2 separate regions of the Homo sapiens genome follow, and region 1 is linked to region 2. The links are contacts of gene promoters, found by promoter capture Hi-C in blood cells and fetal thymus (Javierre and others, 2016). All regions are on one chromosome and are shown on one strand. Each heading gives the region's core, a stretch centred on a gene start or on the middle of the fragment in contact. The rest is flanking DNA. Distances are from core to core; before and after follow the strand shown.

Region 1 (7,151 bases), core at 3,752-6,251, 290 kb before region 2:
CTGTTCTGCTCAACACCCTCCCTGGCACCCTGCCTGCTAATCAACTATTCTCATCAACCCAAGTTCTGTCAATTCTAGCCTTGAAAATATAACTCACGCCCGGCGCGGTGCTCACGCCTTTGTAGTAGTCCCAGCTACTCAGGAGGCTGAGGCAGGAGAAATGCTTGAACCCAGGAGGCAGAGCTTGCACTGAGCCAAGATCGTGCCACTGCACTCCAGCCTGGGTGACAGAGCAAGACTCCATCTCAAAAAAGAAAAAAAAAAACATATATATGTGTGTGTGTGTGTGTATATATATATATATACACACACACACACACACACCTCTCAGATCATCTACTTCTCTCCATTGCCACCCCCTCCACCTTAGTCTGGGCACCTAACCAACACCATGGCTTCCTAACTGGTCTTTCTACTTCCATCTCCATCCCCCCTACCCAAACCTTTCTCTATTCAGCAGTCAGAATTGTCACTTTCAAACACAAATTGGATCATGTCACTTTCCTGCTTAAAATCCTTCAATGGTTTCCCATCATCTTTGGAATATAATTCAAACTCCTTACCAGGGTTTAAAGGCTCTGCACAATCTCACCATGGCCAGCTTCTCGGACCTCACCTCAACAGACTGAAGTCCAGTGGCACAATCATAGTTCACTGTAACCTCAAACTCCTAGGCTCAAGTGATCCTCCTGCCTCAGCTTCCTGAGTAGCTAGGACTATAGGCATGCACCATCATGCCCAGCTGATTTTGTTTTTTATTTTCTGTAGAGATGGCTCTCACTATGTTGCCCAGGCTGGCCTCAAACTCCTAGCCTCAGGCGATTCTCCCACCTTGGCCTCTGGAAGTGTTGGGATTATAGGTGTGTGCCACTGGGCCCAGCCCTCAGAGCCTTTTGTGGGCCTTTGTCCATGCTTGGGTCAGGCTTCTCTCTGCTCCTCTTATGACTCACTCCTTCTTAGTCTCCAGGTCTCAACTCAAATTTTACTTCCTCAGAAAAACTTTCCGAAACCATGCTATCTCAAGTAGGTCCCCCATTGTATCCTGTGTCTCAGCTTTCTTTTTTTCTTTCACAGAATTTATAAGAATCTATTTATTTCATTTGATTATTTATTTTTTGTCTGTTTCCTAAACTGTAAACTCCATGGGAGACTCCTTATTCCATCCCCATGATGTGGTATGATGCCTGGAACATAACAGGTGCTTAATAAAAATATATCGTGAATGAATGACCATCTAGGGAACCCTGTTCAAGATGACATTTCTAGTTCAAGTACAATTTGTAGCTATTTTTGATTTCCAAGAAGAGGTGAGGCCCATTCCCCAACTACCCCCACCCACGTACTGAAGTCCAAGGCCACTTAAAAACCTTGGGGAGAAGAAGGAGAGCAAGTCTCACCCATGCCCTCGGATGCTGAGGTTAAAGCAGCCCAATCGATCACAGCCCAGAGAGTCAGCTCCACACTGCAAAAAGCAAAACCCCAGGAAAGTGCAGTGATCAGAACTGATCAGAACATCACAGATACCCCTTCCACCACCAACCTAAAGAACCTCCTCTTCCCTTGCTCTCTTTCCCCAAGCCCAGGCAGAACACTCCTGAGGAGGAACTGACAGTATTACCTGGAGCACAATGCACGTGGGTTGGTAGAAGTCCACTACCTGGTTGATAACCGGCTGGAAAAGGTGCTTGTAACCTGGGAGAGGGCCAAAGATGGGCACCTGGCACCCCAAGGGGATGGGGAGACAGGGAACAAAAGGAAAAAGGGGGTTGAGCGAGCATGTAGCCCAGGAAAGGGGCCACCCAAAAGAATCAAATCACTGGTCTGAAACTTCTGGAAGGGATCCCAGACTGCTATGAGTGACTGATGAAAGCCAATGACTTTTCCCAGAAAAATGCACATACACATGATATGTTGCATACAATTTCCAGAGATTCATGGTCCCTCTGAAGGCCATTCATCCTTAAGGACAACTGGCCCAACAGCAGACAATACCAGGCAGAAGAGGTTATTTCAAGGAGAAAAAGAAGGGGCCTAGGGAACAGAGGGAAGACTTCGGTACTTACTCTGGTCATCAATGCCATCCCGCAGGGGCACGTTCAGACAGTAGTAGCGGCCACTCTCTGCCCCGACTTCATACATGTCACCTGTAGGGAAGTGGGTGGTGGTAGCCACACATGGGAAGCACCCACAACCCAGCTGTTTCAGCCCCAATCTGCACTCTGGGAGCCTCTCATTCCATCTATGTAGCTTCACCATAAACTCCCTAGAGCCACTAAATCTCTTGCAGCTTGCATTCATTGGGCAAATAGTTTTGGGGGATCCACTCTGAGCCAACTGTGTACTAGGCAGTAGGGATGCAGCAACGAATGGAACTAATGAAATTTACGATATCCCACCACGCTTATATTCTTAGGGAATAGCCATGAGGAGGAGGGAGGCAGTAAACAAAACAAAACAAAAAACCACAATAAACACAAATAGCAGTGAGTGTTCTGAGGGAAACAATGAGGCTGATGTAACAGAGGAATGGGGAAGGAGGTGATTATGATAACTGGAGTGGTAAGGAAAGGCTTCTCTGAGGAGGGGACACCTGAGATGAGACTAGAAGGCTGAGAAGGAGGCACTCATAGTAAAGAGCTGAAGGGTGCAAAGGGGAAAGTAATCCCTATTCCCATACCTGTGCCAGGGAAGAAGTAATTTCCGTATTTGTGGAAGGACACCGTCATGACCCGGTCAGTGAGGTAGAAAGCTTCTTGAACCCCGTCACCATGGTGGATGTCAATGTCAATGTAGAGCACCCGAGGGTGGTACCTAGAGGGAAGCCAAAGCCAGGGTCTGAGCTAGAAGTGAACCCCCCAACCCACTCCTCTCAAACACCGGGTCTCGAATTGTGAAGAGTCTGCTTCTGCCCTGGTCACCTGAAACTTAATGTCACCAGTTCCCTAAAGGCAACTGGGGGCTCCAGCCTAGAGGCTAGAGGCAGGGACAGGAGAGGGATATGCAGAGAAGGCTGAAATGTGAGCAGGCAGTAGGGAATCTGCAGCAGTGGAAGAGGCAGCCTGAATAAAGCATCAAGAACTTGGGAGAAGCTAATCAGGGAGGAGGGAGGTCAAGGTCAGGGTTGAGACTGAGAGACCTCCTCAGCCAAGAATCCCGTAACTGCCCCCATCTCCTCCTGGGCTACTTACTTGAGCAGCTCCAGGATGCCAATCACAATGTCGTTGACATAGCAGAAGCCAGAGGCCTATGGCAAGACAGTGGTCTCATAAAGAGAAGAGCAATTCCCCTCCCAGCTGCCCCCCACCATCATCCTAAACACCTACCCTAGGATGGCCACTGTCTTTCCCATCACCTCCTCACTCACCTCAAACTTCTTGGCATGGTGCAGACCACCAGCCCAGTTAATGGCAATATCACAGATCTGAAAGACAAACACCTAAGTCACAGTCCTTCCTGCCCACCCCTCAAGCTGGGAGCCCAGGATCAGGGTTAAATCCCGAGTCCAGGGATCCAGAGGAAAGGAAGAACAGGACTCGGGACTATGTCACCTTGTTGTTCAGCTGGGTTGCTCCTTGCAGAGATGCGCCTGTGTAACGCGAGCAGAACTCAAAGAGCCCGGGAAACACTGGGCTGCAGGGAAGAGGAACAAGTTGGAACCCTCCTGCCTCTGTCTGGGCCCTTCCCATATCTCCCTCCCCATCCTAGATTCCTCCAATCTCCATTTTTCAAGAACCTTCTCTCCCTCTCCTACACACGTGGGCTATCTGCAAATTTATTCAACAAATATTTTGGACCAAACCATGTACCAAGCCCTGTGCAAGGCACTGGATGGGAAGTAAAGAAGCACTTAACTGTCAGGGAGTTTGTATCCTAGCTGCGGAAAGAAGCAAGCAGCTTCCAGGTACTCAAGTACAATGTAAAAAGGAAATCAGTTGAAAGAAAACATGAGCTCTGTTTTTCTTAGTCTTCTCAGTGTAACAAATTTTAGCATAATGTTCAATAATATTTTTCAGTCACATATTTTAAAGAAAGAACTGTATACCTACATATGTGAAACAGTGATGAGATAACCCACGAAAAGCCTGTAGCACAGTATACAGTATCCGCTCAGCCTTTAATAAATGTCAGCTATAATTATTACCATTGTTATTCTTTATAAAAAGTAAAGGCTTGAAGCCAGACACAAAAGCCTACTTACTGTATGACTCCATTTATGTAACATTCTGGAAAAGGTAAAATACAAGGACAGACATCTTATCAGTAGTTGGCTGGATCTAGGTTGCAGAGAAGTTATTAACTACAAAAGGGTGAGTGACCTTTGTTGGGTAGTGGAAATTTCCTGTACCTTGATACCTTTTTTTTTTTTTTTTTTGTAGAGACAGGGTCTCACTATGTTGCCCAAGCTGGTCTCAAACTCCTGGGCCTAAGTGATCCTCCCGCCTTGGCCTCCCAAATTGTTGGGACTACAGGTGTGAGCCATCGGCGCTGGCCCTATACCTTGATATATTCTATCAAACCTCTCAGAACTCTTACACCTAAAAAAGGTTAATTTTACTGTATGCAAGTTATACCTATATAAACCTGACTTTTTAAAAAGGAAAGGCTTAGGCAATCCCTAGTTTTAGGTCTCAAAAAAAAAAAATAGTGCAGCTGATACATTTGACCATGTGAAAAACAGAACTGTAGGGGTTTTTTGTTTGTTTGTTTTTTGAGATGGGGTCTTGCTCTGTCGCCCAGGCTGGGGTGCAATGGTGCGATCTCGGCTCACTGCAGCCTCCGCCTCCCGGGTTCAAGCAAGAATTGTAGGGTTTTATAGTTTCTCAAAAGGCTTGGAAAGAATTAGTGATTAATACCAGAAAACTAAGCAAATGAAAAAATAATGCAATTGTCAGCTCCAGGAAAAACAAAAAGCTTTAGAAGAAAATAGATTAAATCACACTACACTATTTGGCTTGATAGTAAATGAATCTTTCAGAGTTATAATAATGTAAACACAGAATACTGATTTATTTTTAAATTACTATGAAGCTGAAAGGGGAAAGGAAGCCAATGTGATGGTGTAAGAAGACTAAATGCTCATATCCCATACTAAAAGCTTAACAGATAATGCCTAAAATTGACAGACGAAGAAATAGCAATGAGAGACAATACAGGAGGGGAGTATGATTACAAGCACCGATTCTGGAGCTAGACTACCTAGGTTCTTTAACACCTACTAATGATAGTGAGGTTGTACAAACTGTTTAACCTTTCTGTGCTTAAGTGTCCTCATCGGTAAAAGGAAACAATAATAGACCCTGCTTCATAGGGGTTGTTGAGATTAAATAAGCTAATGGCTGTAAAGCACTTAGAACAGTACCTAGTATATAACAGGTATTACCTAAGGATTACAGATTAGTAATAACAGTCAATTAATATTATTATTTAGAAATCCAAAGGTAAATACCAGAAGACATAGGGGAAAGGAGCTGAAAGTGGCTGTCACTGGGCAGAGGGATTTATGGGTGAAAAGGAGAGGTCTGGAATTTTTTTTTTTTTTTTTTTTTAAGACAGAGTCTCACTCTGTTGCCCAGGCTGGAGTGCAGTGGTGCAATCTCAGGTCACTGCAACCTCCAACTCCCGGGTTCAAGCAATTCTCCTGCCTCAGCCTCCTGGAGTAGCTGGGACTACAGGCACGTGCCACCACACATGACTAATTTTTGTATTTTTAGTAGAGATGGGGTTTCACCATGTTGGCCAGGCTGGTCTTGAACTCCTGACCTTAGGTGGTCCACCCGCCTCGGCCTCCGAAAGTGCTGGGATTACAGGCGTGAGCCACTGCGCCCGGCTTGGGACTACTTTTTTATTTTTTTCATTTAAAGGCCTATAGTACAATTTGGCTACTTATGTTAGAATACTTTGAAACCAATCAGAAATTCATTAAACAGAAGAAAAATTCCTGATTCTCATCGGAAATACAGATAAGCACAACTGTAACTTGTTTGACAGGAAGACTGATGCAGCATAAATAGCCCAGAGATAGTATTCTAATTAGCATTCCCTAATCGCACAAAGAGCATCTACGGGACCCCAGTGTGGCGTAAGGGCTGACCCTGTATTCACAGAGCTAGAAAGTGAGCTCAGAAATAACAGCAGGAATACTAACAAAAAAACAAGAAACCTCCCCAAACAGCATGTGACTGAACACCAAATGAGCAGTGCAGTGTGTGCAAGACAGAGCTCTATGGGCTGGTGTGGTCAAGAAAGGTTTCATGGAGATGGTGTGAAGGCTGAGAAGGCCTTGAAGAGGTTGAATAGAGAACTAAGGGCATTCCAGGAAGGCATCCTGTGCAGCTGAGGTGTAGGGATAAAGTTGGAAAGGTGCCAATGCCAGCCTAATGAGTTGGCCTCTATCCTACAGCCCTGGCTGCTTCTGTCATTAAGATCTTTCAGGAAAACAGATTAGTGGTTTAAAAACCCGGGATCTGGATCATGCCCCCTCCAATGACCAGTTATGTGACTACGGCTAAGTTACCTAGATATTCCCAAACCTCAATTTACTTATATATAACATCAGAAAAAGGTCTATTATAATACATCTAAGGATTGGTATGAGAATTAAGTGGATTTACCAGCAACCCTTGGCATAATACCTAGCAGAGTAAGCACTCAGTAAATGGTAGCTATCATAAGAAATTCTACAGGATCAACAACCTGGTTTCTTCAAGAAATAAATTCAAGGGGGTGACAGAAAAGCTACAAATTAAAAGTCTTAAGAGACATATCAACCAAATGCACTGTATAGACCTTGTTTAGATCTGGATTTAAATTAGCTACAAAATAATTATGAGACAACTGCAGAAATTTGAATATTGATCCCATATTTGATGACATTAAGGAATCACTGTTAACTTTTTAGGTTTGATAATGATACTATGTTTTTTTAAAAGAGTATCATTTAGAGATACATAATAAAATATTTATGGATAAAAGGATATAACATCTAGGATCTGCTTTAAAACAATCTAACATGAGGGAGTATAGATGAAGTAAGAGTGGCCACTTGCTCAGCTGGGTGCGATGGCTCACGTCTGTAATCCCAGCACTTTTGGAGGCTGAGGCTGGTGGATCACCTGAGGTCAGGAGTTCAAAACCAGCCTGACCAACATAGT
Region 2 (6,927 bases), core at 190-2,689:
AACCCTGTCTCTACTAAAAATACAAAAATTAGCAGGATGTGGTAGCAGGCGCCTGTAATCTCAGCTACTTGGGAGGCTGAGGCAAGAGAATCGCTTGAACCTGGGAGGCAGAGGTTGCAGTGAGCCGAGATCACACCATTGCACTCCAGCCTGGGCGACAGAGAATCCGTCTCAAAAGAAAAAAAAAAGTTGTCTAACATATTAATACAACTTTCAAGCCACATGCCTCGGTCTAAAAGTAGGTGCCCCCAGTACACTTTTACCCCAGGTAGCAACTTCCACTCACCTTAAAGTCACATACCTGGAGGAAGGGGATAGGGAGGAAATCTAAACATCTTATACTTGAATGTAAGCTCCGTTATTTCACGGATTCAAATGTGGTGAAAGGAACTATTTTTTTTTCCTTTTTTTTTTGAGATGGAGTCTCACTCTGTCGCCCAGGCGCGATCTCGGCTCACTGCAACCTCCCGTCTCCCGTGTTCAAGCAATTCTCCTGCCTCAGCCTCCAGAGTAGCTAGGATTACAGGCGCCCACCACCACGCGCAACTGATTTTTGTATTTTTAGTAGAGACAGGGTTTCACCATGTTGGCCAGGCTGGTCTCAAACTCCTGACCTCAGGTGATCCGCCCGCCTCGGCCTCCCAGAGTGCTGGGATTACAGGCGTGAGCCACCGGGACCAGACGGAACTATTCTTTTCCACAAAAGAACAAACACATACATAACTTTTGCCACGTCTGAAGACGAGGGTTCTAATAGGGCGCGGGTGGTGTCTCAGGTATTTTGAAAGGAGCTACCCAAGAATCTCAGCTTGTCAGGCCAGTCATTCCATTTGACCCTATCTGGCGCGTATTGGGGCCCCGACAAGGTAAGGGGTTGGCATGAAGCTGCACAGTGAGATAAAGCTGGACCGGAGCTAGAACCCAGAATCAAAGCCTTGCCCTGTGCGGTTTCTCATCGCCTACGCAGTCGGGCCCTGGCCTGGCATCTCCAGGCAGGTGGCCTTGGACGGAAGCCCGGCCTACTGGCTTCATTTGTGGGACCCCGGGGGTCCTCTCCTCCGCCCATGGAGCCTGGTTACTCCCACTTCCTCAAGCCTAGGGCCTGGAGAAGCCTTTCCTGGTTCGCGGCCTCACGGTCTGCAAGGTCCTCTTACTTCCCTGAAGCCGCTCCAGCCCCACTTCCCGAAGGTCCCGCTTCCGGGTGGCTCGCTTCGCCACCTGCGGTCCCCTGCCTCGGCTTGGGAACGCCAAGGACATCCCCCACGGAAGCCTGGGCCCACATCCCCATGCCCTTGCCGCACGTCACCGCCCCGCTGGCCCCGAATACGCCTCCGCCCTGCACTTCCTCTCTGCAGCGCCGTCTTTCCGGCCGGGCTCCCTTCTAATTGGCCAGCTCAGAGCTTCCTCGGGTACTCGGCCACTCGGGGCATCGCGGCGGCCTTTCTAGCCGCTGTCCCAAGGGTTGGTCTCGCGCTTTCGGCTGCGAGCTCTCTGTGGTGCTGGCAGCGACATGTGGCGCCTCCCGGGACTCCTGGGCCGAGGTAAGGGACGTCCAAGCAACCAGCGTCACTCTGGGCCGCAAAGACCGAACTGGAGTGGGGGCGGGCCCGAGGAAACAGCCGAAGCGATCGTGGGCCGGGTTAGAGCCAAGGAAGGCGGGGCTTGAAAGAGGGCGGGGAAGTCAGGGGCTGCTGGAATTTGAGATGTGGATGGGCCTAGCTAGAAGAGGGTGGAGTCCAAGAAGTTGGTAGGACTGTTGGGAGGGGGAGGAGTCCAATGGCAGGAGATGGTGGACTGAATGAATGAAAGAGGATTAGGGGCCAATGGAGTAGGCATAGCCAGTGAAGAGAGGAGAGGTTTAGAGTCAAAGAGCCCCAAACATTAGTGAGAGTATATGTATGAACGTTTGGTCATCTTAGAACAGTGGTTGGCATCCACAGGAGACCAGCAGAATCACATGGGCGCTTTTAAAAAACGTGGATGCTCTACCCTGAGAAATCTTAGTTTATTGGTTCTGGGGTACTACCCTAGAATCTGTAGTAGATAAAAGATTCCCATGTGTATCCATGTTTAAGAACCTCTGCTGAGGCAGATGACAGTGATTCCTGGGTTCTTGTTGAGGTGCCTGAGTTTTGGTTGTTCTGTACAGCTCTTCCCCGTACACTGGGACCTAGCCTCTGGAGGGTGACTCCTAAGTCCACCAGCCCAGATGGGCCTCAGACTACCTCCTCCACTTTGCTGGTTCCTGTGCCTAACCTCGACAGGTAAGATACTGCCATTTTACCACTCATTTCCTCCCCTAGTCACCCTTTTTTTTTATTTTTTTTTTTTTGTTGTTTTTTGAGATGGAGTCTCATTCTGTCGCCCAGGCTGGAGTGCAGTGGGGCAATCTCAGCTCACTGCAACCTCCGCCTCCCAGGTTCAAGCAGTTCTCTGCCTCAGCCTCCCGAGTAGCTGGGATTACAGGCACCCGTCACCACACCCTGCTAATTTTTATTTTATTTTATTTTTTTTGAGACAGAGTCTCGCTCTGTCGCCCAGGCTGGAGTGCAGTGGCGCGATCTTGGCTCACTGAAACCTCCGCCTCCTGGGTTCAAGCGATTCTGCTGCCTCAGCCTCCCAAGTAGCTGGGATTTCAGGCATGCACCATCACGCCTGGCTAATTTTTTTTGTATTTTTAGTAGAGACGGGGTTTCACCATGTTAGCCAGGATGGTCTTGATCTCCTGATCTCATGATCTGCCCGCCTCAGCCTCCCAAAGTGCTGGGATTACAGTGTGAGCCACTGTACCCAGCCAATTTTTATATTTTTAGTAGAGATGGGGTTTCACCATCTTGACCAGGCTGGTCTTGAACTCCTGACCTCGTGATCCACCCACCTCAGCCTCCCAAATTGTTGGGATTACAGGTGTGAGCCACCGCACCCAGTCCCTGGTCTCCCTTTGCCCCTACTTGATAGCCTCTTATTTCATCATCTAGGTCAGGTCCCCATGGCCCAGGCACGAGCGGGGGTCCAAGGTCCCATGGATGGAAGGATGCCTTCCAATGGATGTCTTCCCGTGTCTCCCCGAACACCCTATGGGATGCCATATCTTGGGTAAGGCTTCCCCAGCCTGGTCCTTGACCTTCAGTGTAGATGAGAATGATCCTTCATGGGTATACAGCCGAACCTGGAACAAGGGCTAGGGAATCACTGTGTCCATTTAACAAGTAACCCATGGTATTGGAGCATATTCAAGGAGATATTGCCACTTTCCACACCCCCGCCATGTATGTTTTCCTCATTTAATTCAGTAAACATTTATGTAACACCTTGTCTGGGCCAGGCATTTTTGCTAGTCACTACGGACATAGCAGAGAACAAGATAGATACATTCTTGCCTTCATGGATCTTACAATAAATAATAATACATTGCATCTTTTTTTTATTATTCATTTTTTTTATTTTTAAATTATTATTTTTTTCTGAGACAGAGTCTTTCTCTGTCGCCCAGGCTGAAGTGCAGCGGCATGATCTTGGCTCACTGCAACCTCCGTCTCCCGGGTTCAAGCAATTCTCCTGCTTCAGCCTCCCAAGTAGCTGGGATTACAGGCACGTGCCACCACGCCTGGATAATTTTTGTGTTTTTAGTAGAGACGGGGTTTCACCATTTTGGCCAGGATGGTCTCGAACTCCTGATCTCGTGACCCACCCACCGCGGCCTCCCAAAGTGCTGGGATTACAGCTGTGAGCCACCGCGCCCGGCCTTATAGCATTATTTATTAATGTAAAGTATTATACATGCATTATCTTGTGTAATCCTTACAAAAATCTTACAAGGGAAATATCACCTTCATTTTACAGCTGAGGAATCTCAGGCTCTGAAATATTAGGTAACATGCGTAGGGTCTCATACCTGTTAAGTGGAGGAGCCAGATTTAACTCTGGAGTTCATGTTCTACTGCTTGGTTGCTGCATCAAATACAGAGCCTAGCCCGTAATAGTTGCTCAAAAATATTTGTTGAACCTGATCTATAAGGTCAGATTCTTACTAGTGAACACTAGGTCTCATAGGGCAGAGTCTTCGCTTTTCAGGCAATGTTCCAGGTGGAAGTTCTGCTTATAAGATCTTCTGAATGAAGTTGACACACACATCACTCTCATGTTTGTCACAGCTCATCCCTGCTGCTTTCGTGCTGTGTACTTTGGACAAATGACTTGACCTGTGTGACCCTTGGCTTTCTCATCTGTAAATTGGTGTCATCAGCAGAGCTGAGCCTGGGATGTCTCCATGACAGGGTTACCCCTCTATGGGGAGCTGTGGACTAAGGCCATATCATACCCTGAAGAGAGGAGCATTTTCCCATGTTGCCAAAGAAGATCTGAGCCCTAGGGCTGTCCCATAGTGAGAAGTAGGAAGTGGGCCTGGATTCCAGAAGTCCCAATGCCATCCCTGTGCTCTGTCACTACTGCTCATATGAAAGGGTCTGCACGCAAGCTGTCCTCAGTACCATGGATACTTGTCTCTGTTCTTCACAATGCTGGTGCCTTTTCTTCTGGCCTTAGCCCACACGTCACCCCCACAGACAGGCTTTCCCTGACTCCTTGTCTTGTCAGGACCCCTTTTATGCTCTGTGTAACTCTCTGATTAGTTTCCTTCTTGGCATTTAACATCACTAGTAATTACTCTATTTCTCTCTGTAGTTGTGTTTTGTCTTTCTAAACACAAGATATAAACTTCATGAGGGCAGAAATTATGTCTGTCTTACTTGCTATTGTATGCAGTGCCTGGAGCAACAAGTAAGTATCTGGGTCAACCTGTGTGTTTTTTTTAGGCTGGAGCGCAGTGGTGCGATCCTGGCTCACTGCAACCTCTGCCTCCCAGGTTCAAGCAATTTTCATGCCTCAACCTCCGAGTAGTTGGGATTACAGGTGTGCCCCACCACGCCTGGCTAATTCTTGTATTTTTAGTGGAACAGAGTTTCTCCATGTTGGCTGGTCTTCAACTCCTGGCCTCAAGTGATCCACCTGCCTCAGCCTCCCAAGTGCTGGGATTACAGGCATGAGCCACTGCACCCGACCCTGGGTCAACCTTCTTAAGCATAACATAAGGAGAGACAGGAGACAGGGAAAACCAAGGAGTCTCTGGGATAAGAGCTAGCTCAGGTCTTCTGCAGACCTGTCAGAGAAGAAACACCTTTACAAAGCTTACACCTGGAGATGTGTGTGTGCTGGGGTGGCTTCACTGGGGGAATGGGAGTTGGTGGAAGGAGGGGTTGTGCAAGACTGGAAAGAGAGCCTAATGGGGAACTCTGACCTGTTGCTATATTTGCAACTAGGTGCCAACCTACCCCATTATCTTTTTGCCTGCTTAGTCTTCGCTTATTTAGTCACTTGATCAAGCATTTATTCAGGTTGTACTTATTAGGTCCCTACTATATATTAGCACTGTGCTGTACTTGGGCACCAGAGATACATTGGTGAGTAAAACACACATGGTCCCTGCCCATGTCGTGCTTATAGACTAACAGGAGAGACAGACCTTAGATAAATAAATGTAGAGATGATTGTTTAAATGCCAGTGTGGTCAGGGCTCCAGAGAAGTTAGGGTGTTGTGAAAGTTTGTAGTCGGGGAGCTGCCCCACCTGGATTTCCTGAGGAAGTGATGTTTGAGAATAAGGCCGGGTCTGATGGAGTTGATTGGTGAAGGACCGTGTCCTTAACGTGCTGTCTTTCCCAGGGCACTCTGGCCGTGCTGGCCCTGCAGCTGGCAAGGCAGATCCACTTCCAGGCATCCCTGCCAGCAGGACCTCAGCGGGTAGAACACTGCTCCTGGCACAGTCCCCTGGACCGTTTCTTCTCATCTCCCTTGTGGCACCCATGCTCCTGTGAGTTCTCAGTCCTGGGGACAGGAGGGCTGGGCTGGGCGTTTCTCTGGGCCAGGAAGCGTCTCTGGACACACCTCAGGAAAAGAGCCATCAGCAGCTCCTTGCCTTTCCTATCTGAAGTCAGAGGAAGAGGAATGTGGGGAAGTTCTATCCACCCAGGGCATGGGCCACACCTGCCCCTCAGTGTCTTTCCATTTCCTCCCATCACCTCCAACCAAGGGAGGCCCACAGGGTCCAGACTACTTTAGATTCTGGGTGTGGCTTCCTGGCCCACATTCAACCAGTTAAATTATTCTCTGGTCAGTCACTCAGTCATTCATAAATAAATGAATCTTTATTGAGCACCTATTATGTGCCATGGTGCAGAAGCAACATAGCCTAGTGGTTGAGGCTCTGGAGTCAGATTATAGAGGTTCAAGTCCCAAAATTGCTGCATACTAGTCTTATGTCCCTGAACAAGTCACTTTTAACTTCCTTCTGCCTCGGTTTCTTTATCTATAAATTGGGGTAATAATAAAACCCACCCCATAGGTTTCTTGGGAGGACTAAATGAGTTAATACATGTCAAGGACTTAGGGCAGTGCCTGACACATAGTAAGTGTGTAGTAATTATTAGTTTAAGCATTAGTTCTTGTCCTTATTATGATGATAATCATTAGCAATATTGCTATCAAAGAAAGTGCTAGGTACTGGGGCTACAACAGTGAGTAAGGTAGATGCCTCCCTGCCACTGAAGAATTTAGGCAGAGGAGTGATTGATGCTTAGGGTGGGAGATCAGCACAAATACAGGCCCCTCTAGACTCCTCTGGAGGGAAGCCAAGGAAACAGAGGAGGAGGAGTGTGAAGGAAGTGTCACAGGAGTTTCAAAATTCTTCCTATGGCCTCTAAAACCTCAGGGAGGACTCAGTCAAGCCCGAGCAGCCTGCACTGATCCTCTTCTGACCTGATCACTCTTTTTTTTTCTTTTGAGACACAGTCTTGCTCTGTCACCCAGGCTGGAGTGCAGTGGTGTGATCTTGGCTCACTGCAACCTCCGCCTCCTGGGTTCAAGCAATTTTC

The links. Contacts are between HindIII fragments. The CHiCAGO score rates a contact against its expected background, and 5 or more counts as called.
Region 1: a fragment that was not itself captured here is called in contact with the fragment with the promoter of DELE1 in region 2 in 1 of 17 cell types (total B cells); the score reaches 5.6 in total B cells.

The regions. Positions count from the first base shown.
Region 1 is chr5:141,626,496-141,633,646 of GRCh38, forward strand. HDAC3 (histone deacetylase 3) reads right to left here. Exons shown (of 15, transcript NM_003883.4): 4 at 3,549-3,630; 5 at 3,365-3,421; 6 at 3,189-3,244; 7 at 2,678-2,811; 8 at 2,064-2,144; 9 at 1,619-1,692; 10 at 1,398-1,462. Among named protein-coding and RNA genes, the nearest start is that of HDAC3, 6.8 kb to the right of the region's middle. The HindIII fragment of the contact is 184 bases long and covers 4,910-5,093 here.
Region 2 is chr5:141,922,432-141,929,358 of GRCh38, forward strand. DELE1 (DAP3 binding cell death enhancer 1) reads left to right here and starts at 1,440. Exons shown (of 12, transcript NM_014773.5): 1 at 1,440-1,541; 2 at 2,150-2,264; 3 at 2,979-3,096; 4 at 5,720-5,867. The coding sequence starts at 1,511. RefSeq lists enhancers at 1,321-1,834, 6,890-6,927. The HindIII fragment of the contact is 14,517 bases long and covers 1-5,184 here.